4 separate regions of the Homo sapiens genome follow, and all the other regions are linked to region 2. Evidence: promoter capture Hi-C in 16 types of primary human blood cells and fetal thymus (Javierre and others, 2016). All regions are on one chromosome and are shown on one strand. The core of a region is centred on a gene start or on the middle of the fragment in contact, and the rest is flanking DNA. Distances in the headings are between cores, read along the strand shown.

What was found. Contacts are between HindIII fragments. The CHiCAGO score rates a contact against its expected background, and 5 or more counts as called.
Region 1: a fragment that was not itself captured here is called in contact with the fragment with the promoter of FAM181B in region 2 in 2 of 17 cell types (naive B cells and total B cells); the score reaches 5.7 in naive B cells.
Region 3: a contact is called between a fragment that was not itself captured here and the fragment with the promoter of FAM181B in region 2, in 1 of 17 cell types (naive B cells). The highest score is 5.3, in naive B cells.
Region 4: a fragment that was not itself captured here is called in contact with the fragment with the promoter of FAM181B in region 2 in 8 of 17 cell types (total B cells, naive B cells, M2 macrophages and 5 more); the score reaches 10.7 in total B cells.

Annotation. Positions count from the first base shown.
Region 1 is chr11:83,803,463-83,806,162 of GRCh38, reverse strand. The region is part of intron 17 of DLG2 (discs large MAGUK scaffold protein 2); the gene reads left to right. Among named protein-coding and RNA genes, the nearest start is that of DLG2-AS2, 170 kb to the right of the region's middle. The HindIII fragment of the contact is 2,260 bases long and covers 153-2,412 here.
Region 2 is chr11:82,732,592-82,735,291 of GRCh38, reverse strand. FAM181B (family with sequence similarity 181 member B) reads left to right here and starts at 1,428. Exons shown (of 1, transcript NM_175885.4): 1 at 1,428-2,700. The coding sequence starts at 1,563. The HindIII fragment of the contact is 9,040 bases long and covers 1-2,700 here.
Region 3 is chr11:83,842,975-83,845,809 of GRCh38, reverse strand. The region is part of intron 16 of DLG2 (discs large MAGUK scaffold protein 2); the gene reads left to right. Among named protein-coding and RNA genes, the nearest start is that of DLG2-AS2, 210 kb to the right of the region's middle. The HindIII fragment of the contact is 1,084 bases long and covers 783-1,866 here.
Region 4 is chr11:83,823,760-83,826,682 of GRCh38, reverse strand. All of the region lies in intron 17 of DLG2 (discs large MAGUK scaffold protein 2), which reads left to right. Among named protein-coding and RNA genes, the nearest start is that of DLG2-AS2, 190 kb to the right of the region's middle. The HindIII fragment of the contact is 2,865 bases long and covers 54-2,918 here.

The DNA.
Region 1 (2,700 bases), core at 33-2,532, 1.1 Mb before region 2:
ATCATGATTACAGGAGGTCTGGGAAGATAGAACCTGACCTGGACAAGGGAGAAGGCCAAGACTTCAAAGAATCCAGGAAAACAGGAAGTAAAACAAGGAGGAGGAAGTTAGGCCCAAGGGAATAACATTAGGCTAGGGATGGACATGAAGCTTCTAGCAGCAGCAGAGGGTTTGCTTAGGAGAGGAGGCGTGTAATGTAGGACATTGAACTCTAGCATTCTCATCTGGACTCTACTACAAATACACTGAGTGACCTTGGAAAATAACTTCATTCTCTGTGCCTCACTTTTTCCACCAATGATATGGGAGGACTAGACAGAATCCACTCTAACGTTCCCTCATATCAGAGAAGTATCTGGTCTTAAAAAGACTAGAGAGGGTTGTGGTAAAAGCTGCATTGTGAAAGGGCTTAAATATAGGGCTAAGAAATTTGCACATAATTTACAAGCAGTTAGGAACACAGATGAATATGAGCATCTGTGGCATGTATAAAATGTGAAAGGCAGTATTTAAAGAAAAGTAGAGTGGTTGTGATATACAAGATGACTATCAAGGTATTGAGAGTAGACAAAAGGGAGAGGGAGGATGGGAGAGAGACAGAGATTAGAGGAAAAGCTAACATCAATTAGAAGTCTACCACATGGTAATGAGATATAATATCATGCTATATCAAAAAACCAAATATATGATATATCAAAAAGAACAATATTATATATCAAAAACATTCTAATATGATATATAAAAAATTATGTCATGATATATCAAAAATAAATCCAGAATGATAGAGAAAAATTATATATATATATGGGAGAAGCTCTCCTGCACAAAATAATACCAGCTAATAATTCTAGAATAAATAAAGAATTTATAAAATAACCATTTTTTAACCCGCTACAAAATAACTATTTCAAGAAAGCATAATCCATAGATGCTAAAACAATTAGGGGTTAAAGTTGACTGGAAAAAGGATATTTACATGGTCTCAAATAAACCACCTTATAGATTGTTATTTGCAAAATAGAAAGGTGCCTTTTAAATGAAGAGATCTGGTGGTCCATGTATTTTGAGCTTCCTGCTATGACGCAGTAAGAAATACACAGCATTCATTACACACTGGATTTTGCTAAAAATGTTTCACCTGATTCTGAAGAAACAATCAGACAAATTCAAAATGCAGAACACTCTATAAGCATCTGACTGAAATTATTTTTAAAAAAAGAGTAAATTTTATTTAAAGAAAAATGTAGGTAATGTTCAAGACTAATAATGACTAAAGACATAGTAACAACCAAATGCAATGCATAAAACTTAAATCCTGGATTTAAGAAAAAAATCTGTAAAAGACATTTGGAGGATAACGGAGGAAATTTGAATAGGTGCAATATATTAAATGTTATAGAAATATTAGTTTTGTTTGCTTTCTCTGGAGTAATAATGGCATTGTGGTTATACAGAAAATGTCTTTACACTGGGAAGATGCCTTGCTGATATGTTAGATTGAAAGTGGAATGACGTCTGCAACATAATTCAAATGGTTCAGAAAAAGTGTGTGTCTGTGTGTGTGTGTGTGTGTGTGTGTGTGTCTTCTGCTAGGCAGATAGGTAGGTAAGTGGAGAGAGTGAGAAGGAGGAAGAGAGGGAGAACAAATGTACCAAAATGTTAAGAACTGTTGAATCTTTATGAGTTTTTATTATAATGTTCTTCAAGTTTTCTATAATTTGAAATTTTTCAAAATAAACAGGAAACAGGGCCTGTTTCAATAGTTCAGATCAATGCTTAGAACTAGCATAGTAAATTAGAAAGGAAAAAACAAAAGCAACAGATATTTTGAAGAGAAATAGTTTAATAAATATTATTTCTCATTCATAGTGGTGAATACAAGTTGATTTTCATGCATCTCTGTTTATTCAGATCTCCTCCTCTTGATTTGACTGATTGCAGTTGGGAAGATTTTGACTTCCCAAAAAGATTTGACTGATTGCAATTGGGAAGATTTGATGAAAGTAATTGGGAAGAGGGGACTTAAGAGTTCTTGACACAGTTTGCCTAAACTCACAAAACCTGTTTCTTGGGAGCTTTTAGGCAATGAGATGATTACCTTATTTTTAGATGAGGAATAAGTCAAAGAAATACTAAGATGTAATTATGGGCAACAGCCAGATGCCAAGATACACATAAGCCCAAACACAAAAGAATGTCATCAACTTGAGGAACTACGATGAAAAAAACATCAGATGAGTCCCACATGCAGCAGCCAGAGTTTGAGTTTTGCATTAACAGATTTTGACCAAGATTAATTCCATTAATATATTATTCCTGCTCAAGCCTTTCAGATGTTTTAGGAGTGGACTGTTTGACAGATATGTCTCTGGAGGCAGCATTATTCCTTCCTTTAAAATTGATTCCAAAGCTTATGAACAAGATTAATTGTGTATGAGGAAAAAAGGAAACAAGAACCCTTTTCACTTACATTACAATCTCACTCAGATTAGTTTATGTAAACTAAACCAAATTAGTGAATATTATAGGATATGTAGAAATGAACATCCTTATTGCTTTCAAATCTGTATACTATTTAGACAAATTCCTAGTTAATAACTTTGACCCAGAACTTAGCCAACTGAACTTGTTTGAACAAAATAATAAGGTTCACTGGGAATTAGGGCATTTATGTGAAAAATGGTATTGATTCAGTATTTC
Region 2 (2,700 bases), core at 179-2,678:
TACAATATTTTCAACTTACAATGTGTTTATCAGGATGTTGTTGCTCTATCACAAATTGAGAAGCATCTATGATCTCACTTAATGCTCATGAACACCCTATGATCCAGAAGACACGTAAGGGATATAGTCACCTTTTTGTGTTTCAGAGAAGTAAGGGTGAATACTCATCCAGGCTATGGAACAATGTATCATTTAAATATCACAAGTGCCCTGTGGGGAGGGCAACTTTACCTGCATTTAACATGAGTAAGCTAAACAGAGAGAGTACGCTGGTTTGTCTAAAGCCATGCACTCAGCAGAGCAAGGATTTCAACCTAAGTCATGAGGTTATTGAGTGGTGGCTAAGACCAGAACCCAAGCCTCTTCTGAATCTCTTGTGAAAATGACCTTATTGCTCATTTTCTCTATCTATCCCAAAGAGGATTGCCCAGGTGAAATTAGTTTTAAGTGAACTTCATGATGATCCCTGAAATGCAATGAAAATTCCAGGGATAACCTAAATGGTATGACAGGTAGGGGAGAGGTTCCAATCCATCTTTTATTCTAACATGCTGAGAGTTTTATACACACACAGTGTTCTCAAGTAACAGGGGGCTTAGCCAGATCGACTCCTTTCTCCATTGCCTCCTGCTATGTGTTAATAAAAGATGGGCCACTGCTGGCCTCAATTTACTGTTAGCCAATTGTTACTCGTAACAATCAAGTGGCAAACAGTCAAGAAGAAAGAGCACTGGGCTTGAGAATCCTGGGAAAACTCAGGTTAGAATCTTAGGATCAGGTCTAGAGCTTTAAGAAATACTCATTTTCCTTCCCCATCTTAATAGATGAGAAAGGCAAGGGCAAGAGAGGACGCAAGTATTGTCAAGGGCTTAGGAATGGCTTTGGAGTCAGAATGGGCTAGATCTGACTTTGGCCAACTCACTGAACCTCCCTGAGGTGCAGTGTCCACGTTTGTTGAATGGCGATAACATGTAATTCACAGGGCTGTTGTTCAAGGATTAAATGAGATAATAGATGGACAGCGCCTGGCAGAAGCAAGCGCCCAGAAGCTGGTGGGTGTTGTTATACAGCTGGACTGAAACCCACGTCTCTAGACTCCTGCCTTCTTGCCTCAGGAGAGGCACCACCGCAAGTACCTGCAGAAGCCTATCAAGCGCTGCAGCGGCCTCATGGGCCTGAACTGGAGTTTGAGACCAGCCATCTCTTCCTCACCCCTTGCGGTTAGAGGAGTCAAGAGAAACACCACGGGGCAAAGGGAAACGAAGGAGTTAAGGCGTTGAGCTTCAGAAAGCTCAGAAAACTAAAGCGACCCCCCACTCCTCCAAGCCAGGCTAAGTAAGCCCCTCCCCTCTACCACCGGGACGGTCGCCGCGCGCTCCCTCCCTCCGCCCCTTGCTTACAAGACCTAATGAGCTCCCCCGGGAGGCAGCGCAGCGAGCCAGGCCCGGAACTAGTAGGCTGCGCCGCGCGCGCCGCGCCGGGGCGGGAGCTGGGTCTGGGCGGCGGGCAGGAGCTGGCGGGGGCGCACGGGCAGCGCTGCGGACAGCCCGGGAGCCGCGGCGATGGCGGTGCAGGCGGCGCTCCTCAGCACGCACCCTTTCGTGCCCTTCGGCTTCGGGGGCTCCCCGGACGGGCTAGGGGGCGCCTTCGGAGCCCTGGACAAGGGCTGCTGTTTCGAGGACGATGAGACCGGGGCTCCGGCGGGTGCGCTGCTGTCGGGAGCCGAAGGAGGGGACGTGCGCGAGGCCACCCGCGATCTACTCAGCTTCATTGACTCGGCGTCCAGCAACATCAAGCTGGCGCTGGACAAGCCGGGCAAGTCGAAGCGGAAGGTGAACCACCGCAAGTACCTGCAGAAGCAGATCAAGCGCTGCAGCGGCCTCATGGGCGCCGCGCCCCCCGGCCCGCCCTCCCCGAGCGCCGCCGACACGCCAGCCAAACGGCCGCTGGCCGCCCCTAGCGCCCCGACAGTCGCGGCCCCGGCCCACGGCAAGGCTGCCCCCCGGCGGGAGGCGTCGCAGGCCGCCGCGGCCGCCAGCTTGCAAAGCCGAAGTCTGGCCGCGCTCTTCGACTCGCTGCGCCACGTCCCCGGGGGTGCCGAGCCGGCGGGGGGTGAGGTGGCTGCGCCGGCGGCCGGGCTAGGAGGTGCGGGCACTGGGGGCGCGGGAGGGGACGTGGCAGGCCCCGCGGGGGCCACGGCGATCCCAGGGGCCAGGAAGGTCCCGCTGCGGGCACGCAATCTGCCTCCGTCCTTCTTCACGGAGCCGTCCCGGGCAGGCGGCGGCGGGTGTGGCCCGTCGGGGCCGGACGTGAGCTTGGGCGACCTGGAGAAGGGCGCGGAGGCCGTGGAGTTCTTTGAGCTGCTGGGGCCCGACTACGGCGCCGGCACGGAGGCGGCAGTCTTGCTTGCCGCCGAGCCTCTCGACGTGTTCCCCGCCGGAGCCTCCGTACTGCGGGGACCCCCGGAGCTGGAGCCCGGCCTCTTTGAGCCGCCGCCGGCAGTGGTGGGAAACCTACTGTACCCCGAGCCCTGGAGCGTCCCGGGCTGCTCCCCGACCAAAAAGAGCCCCCTGACTGCCCCCCGCGGCGGCTTGACCTTGAACGAGCCCTTGAGCCCCCTGTACCCCGCCGCTGCGGATTCTCCCGGCGGGGAGGACGGGCGGGGCCATTTGGCCTCTTTCGCCCCCTTCTTTCCAGACT
Region 3 (2,835 bases), core at 75-2,574, 1.1 Mb before region 2:
AAGTATTTATTGGTAGGATTATGATTCAAGCCTAGATCTATGTAGCTCCAATGCCCATACTCTTTCCCAATATCACAGTATCCCATACCATCCCCCTCTAGTAGGGTTGTTTTATCCCACACAGTACCAACCACAGTATGTTTAGTATAAACTCTGTATCAGTGTGGTTATTATTTTGCTGAAGTCAGCCTGCTCTATATTGTATATTTAATGCATAGATCCCCCCTTATGATGACAGATTTCTTTCTATTATTTTAATAACATGTCCTCAAATAGCAGTTCAACAAAACCCTCTATCTTTGTGTATCTGTATGATGCCCAATAATCTGTTTGACTGATTATTTGGCTAACTGACCAAATTAACTATTTAAATATGAGGCACACATTATACTGCATCCTTCTGAGGAGCTAGCTCATTTAGATATAAGAAGGTTGTAATCAACCAGCAGCTTTGAAGCCTTCTGTTGTTGTCTTCCATGTGACCACCTTTGGTATGCCCCTCTCTTCACAAGTTTCCTAATACATGTCTTCTCATTCTACTAAAAAGATCTTTTTGATCTCCTACAAGTATCTCCTCTTTTTAATAACATTGTTCACGTGAACGTAGTTGCATTTAATAGAGAAATGAAGGAAAAAGGATTCAGGAAGACTAGCTGTAGACTTCCCATATGACTTCCACGGGTAATAGACCCTTTTTGGGTTGTCGTTATACTAGATCTGGGCCTTCCATCTACAGTCTCTGGAACTCAGTTTTTGTCAGTGTATCCAGGAGTAATCAAGCTTATATGCTGTAATACCATGTTTTTAATATATGATGCAAAATGTAACTACTCAAGATACCAGAATGTGCTATAACTAGCACATTGCTCTCAATAGGAAAAACACTAGGATAAATTATATTTTTAATGAGCTGGAGGCTTGGTGAGCCTGGACTCTGAGAGGGAAATTAGCCACCCAAGTGACCCTAATGACTACTGTCATTGAGCTAGGATGGCCAGATGAGCCCATCTCATACGTTACCCCTACCACCAGGACAGCACATTTATGTTAGCCACCTGCAGCTGGAGCTGGAGATCACCTCGACCTCACAGCTCTGGAGATCTATTGCGAAGATCTTTCTTCTACGACTCAGGTGGACTCTCCCTCCTTTATTCTCCCAATTTATTCAGTTTTATCAATTCTGTTTGCAAGTGTAACTTATTTGACATTCAAACATGCCTTGATTAGTTCCCCAGGCCCTTTTTTTTTTTTTTTTTTTTTTTGATACAGACTCTCACTCTGTTGCCTAAGCTAAAGTGCAGTGATGCGATCTTGGCTTACTGCAACTTCCGCCTCCCAGGTTCAAGCAATTCTCGTGCCTCAGCCACCCAAGTAGCTGGGATTACAGACATGCACCACCATGCCCAGCTAATTTTTTTTTTTTTTTCAATAGAGATGGAGTTTCACCATGTTAGCCAGGCTGGTCTGGAACTTCTGGCCTCTAGTGATCCACCCGCCTCGGCCTCCCAAAGTACTGAGATTACTACAGGCGTGAGCCACCGCGCCTGGCCCCCAGGCCCTTTTTTTTACCCTATGAGCCAAAATCAGGATAGATATGTATCCTGGATATTGTTGAAGTGCTAATATTTTTGTACTTTATCCTTTTGTTTGGGGTGTAGCCTCACAGGGTCCTAATTTTGCTCAGGTGTCTCTGATCTAATCCCACCACTGGGCTCACACAGTCCTATTCATGCAGCCATCAAATCTAGACACTAACACACTAGCTCATCACTCTTCAGTCTGCTGCTATTCTCAGTACTTGCTTTCTTCTGAGTTTGCATTTCTGCTTCATTTTCATCCTCTGAAGATTTCTCTTACTTGCAAGCTTAGCCAAGCATTTAAAAGTATTTTATAACTATTTTATTCAGAATTTTTAGCTGCTTTGTAATGAAAGGGGTTTTCAGAATATCTAATATGCCAAATTACTGGAAATAGCATCTCAATATTTAATTTTCTTTAAAACTTCTCAGTTTTCTAGATGCCTTTAGTTCATTGTCTTATCGGAATTTCAACACTTCCCCATGAGACAAACATTATTCCCTCCATTACCCAAGCAAGGAACCCGACCTGTAGAGGACAATCCTGGCTTCCCACATATCCCAAGAGAGCCAGAACTAGAACTCAGTATCATTTTTCCCAACCACTCACTTTTTTTTCCGTTCATGAAACAATATTTTTGTTTGTATGTCTCTTATATGCTCAGCCTGTACCCGCTTCCAAAATTACACAAAACAAGGACCTAAAAGTCCTTTATCTTTGTCTTTCAGGACCATACAGATTGACAGCATAGATGGATGGGTAAATAAATTTATTTCAGAACAGTAAAGGCAGTGATAGTGGTGTGATCAATGAAAGGACAATGTGGTTTCAAAAAAGTCAGTTCTTCTGGAGGTGAGGGTAGAGGGGACAGCAGAGAGGAGATTGTACCTGGCCTCAGTCTTAAAGGCCAAGTAGGACCTCGTTAGATAGATGAGAATAGCAGGAAAAGGCAGGCATCCTTCTAGCCAAAGCAAACAGCAAACAGCCTGGGCAAAGACAAGGAGGAACAACCTGGGATGAGAAGCTGTGGTTGGCAACTTTGTAAGGCTGAAATATGAAATACAAAGGGGCACAATGAAGTTAAGTGGTGGAGAGGTAGGTGAGGTCAAATAATAGGAAGCTTTGAATGCCTATGTAGAAGTTTAGACCTTATCCTAAAAGGTACACAGATCCTTAGAAGGCTTTTGAGCAAGAGAGAAACATGGTAAGATATGTTCTTTAGAAAGATCAATGAAAACATATTTATATCTTAATTCC
Region 4 (2,923 bases), core at 237-2,736, 1.1 Mb before region 2:
GAAGTGAAATCCAACTAAGTGGAGTTGATGCTGTTTTTGAGGAGGTAAAAGCTTATTGCCTTAAATCTGACCAGTTAAATTTAGAGTTCTGGTCCAGAAACCATGTGGAAGTTGCCTCTCCAAACCAGCATGCTTGTTCCAGGCATTTGCTCTCTCTCTCTAACCCACTGCATCTAGACACATTGACTCTTCAGTCATTTCTGGCTTTTGCCTCTCTTAATTGTAGAGCCCATTTAGACTTCTCCCTACCTTACTGGATCTTTCTTCCTGCACAGCTCAGAACTCACTGCTCACCTGATCACAAGACCACCTCAAATGAAAACAGATATGGCTTGTGAAGAGGCTCCAGGGGAGTCACTCTTGCTCAGCCTTGGCTTCAGAGCCCCACTAGCCAGGCTGTACCTCCTGGCCCAGCCACCAGAGTGTGGGTATTCAGCAGGGCCTGACTATGGGCAGAGTTCTTTATTCCTGATGATTGCCTAGTGCATATAAACATCACCCATCACATACAGACTTCCAGCCTTTGGAAAGAGGAAACTGTACAAAAAGCCTATCTAATCATATCCTTTTCCTGCTCTCTTTAAAGCCTTTCAATGGTGTCCTGCTGTTCTTAAAGCCTAAAATTGTTAACACAGCCCACAGAATTTTGCAGAGTCTGGCCCCTGCCTGCCTGGACAGCCTGCCCCATCCACAATACTTCCCCTACTCTCACTGATGCTTCAGCCACTCTGGATTTTTCTTTACCTATGGTCAGGGATGCTATTCAAAATTTTCACACCTTGGCATAACCCTGGCACCCATCCACACAATGAATGGCCGTAGTGCCACAGATGCCAGACAGCAGGGCAGTGGGGACTTCTAGGGAGCCAGAGTTGTGGGTCACTCAGGAGGGCTCAGGACAGCAGTTATTTACTAACAAACCACACACAAGTGTGTTTCACTGTTGTACAAAAAGGAAGAGCCATATCACTGAGTGGGGACGGAGCAGCAGCCCTGTCCCCTCTGTGCTGAGCTCCCTCCTACCTCCATCTTGTTCACTGAATTTCCTCGAAAAGGAACTTGGAGTAGACAAGGAAAAACCCTCCATTATCTAAAAGGGACCAGAGAACTCATGAATTGCCCCAAGCGTCACTTAAACAGCATCCCCATTGTCTGACATAGAATCCGGCTGTATAATATATGTTAAAGAAAAGCAGTAATTAGGCCGGGCACAGTGGCTCACACCTGTAATCTCAGCACTCTGGGAGGCTGAGTTGGGCAGTTCACCTGAGGTGGGGAGTTTGAGATCAGCCTGACCAACATGGAGAAACCCCATCTCTACTAAAAATACAAAATTAGCCGGACGTGGTGGTGCATGCCTATAATCCCAGCTACTCAGGATGCTGAGGCAGGAGAATCGCTTGAACCTGGGAGGCGGAGGTTGCGGTGAGCCAAGATCATGCCATTGCATTCCAGCCTGGGCAACAAGAGTGAAATTCCATCTCAAAAAAAAAAAAAAAAAAAAAAAAAAATATATATATATATATATATGTGTGTGTGTGTGTGTGTGTATATATATATGTGTATATATATGTCTATATATATGTGTATATATATGTGTGTATATATATGTGTATATATAAAAAACAAAAACAACAACAACAAAAAGAAAAACAATAAAATCTGTGGGCACTCAGCAAACTGTGTAGGGAAACAAAATTAACATTGCTCCTTTCCAGTTATATTCCTTAAGTCTTGCTTATTCAATGTGTCATAAACATACTATATGTCACAACTTAGCAAGGTGCAGTGAAAATAGTACATTGGGAACCATGTACTTAACATCAGACTTGTAACACCTGACTCACAATATCACTACTCAAAGGATTTAACTGTAAGCAGCTTTCAAAAGTCTGAAACTTAACTCAGTGCACCAGTAAAACACCAGCTTTTCTCGCAGTGGTACTTCCAAAACTGTGTATAATAGCGGATGTGTGAAATGCTTCATAAAAAAGGTTCATAATTCAATGAAAGATCTGAGAAGTCCTGCAGCAAATTTTTTAAATGCTGATAAAGTGTTTTTTAACATTATTTAACAAAATAACTTTTTTAGTCTTTGGATATAAATTACTATCAAGTGAAACATATTTTTTGAAAATTCTGTCATAATCTCCAGAAAACCTCTTGCAAGTATTTTATTTGACGGAAGTAAATTTTCACCTTAAAATCTTGTTTGCAGAGCTCAGAGACATTCACAAAGTACCAAAAGCTACTAGACACTAAGGATGCAACGTGAAAAAAATCATTGTGTCCTCAGTGAACATGTAGCCTCATGAAGGGAGACAGACAAATAAATAGATTATTTCCAATATAACATGGAAATGCTAACGGTAAGTTCCAGGGACCACATGGGCGTAAAGAAGAGACCATCCTTAGCTCAGCCTGGGGAAGTAAGAAGGATTCTGGAGGGGAAACTTCCCAACAAAGAGGGCCCCTAGAAAGCAAAACCAGTAGAGAATTGGAGATAAAATGCCTAACCTTTATTGAATATATGCTCAGCACAAAGCATTTTGCTGGATACTGCGCTGTGATTTCACTGAATTGTCCTAACAACCTTGTTGGATTGAAGGCTCAGAGAAATTAAATAATTTGTCCAAGATCACACAGATAATCAGTAATGATGGTGGTATTTGGAATACTGTTGCTTCTGATTTCAAAGCTATGCTCTTTCTGCGATGCAGGCCTTCACCAAAGAATTGAATTTGGCAGTTTACTTATGTCTGAGGCAGTCCATACTCAAAGTCTAGTTAATGAAAAAAGCATAAATGCCTAAAAAAAGAGCATTTAAAAGGAGACATATGAGTCACCACAGGAAGCCATTGTATACGAAGGCTGTAAGATTGAGGCACTTAGAAGCAACGTTCAGATCCTTTGAAGCTTCCCT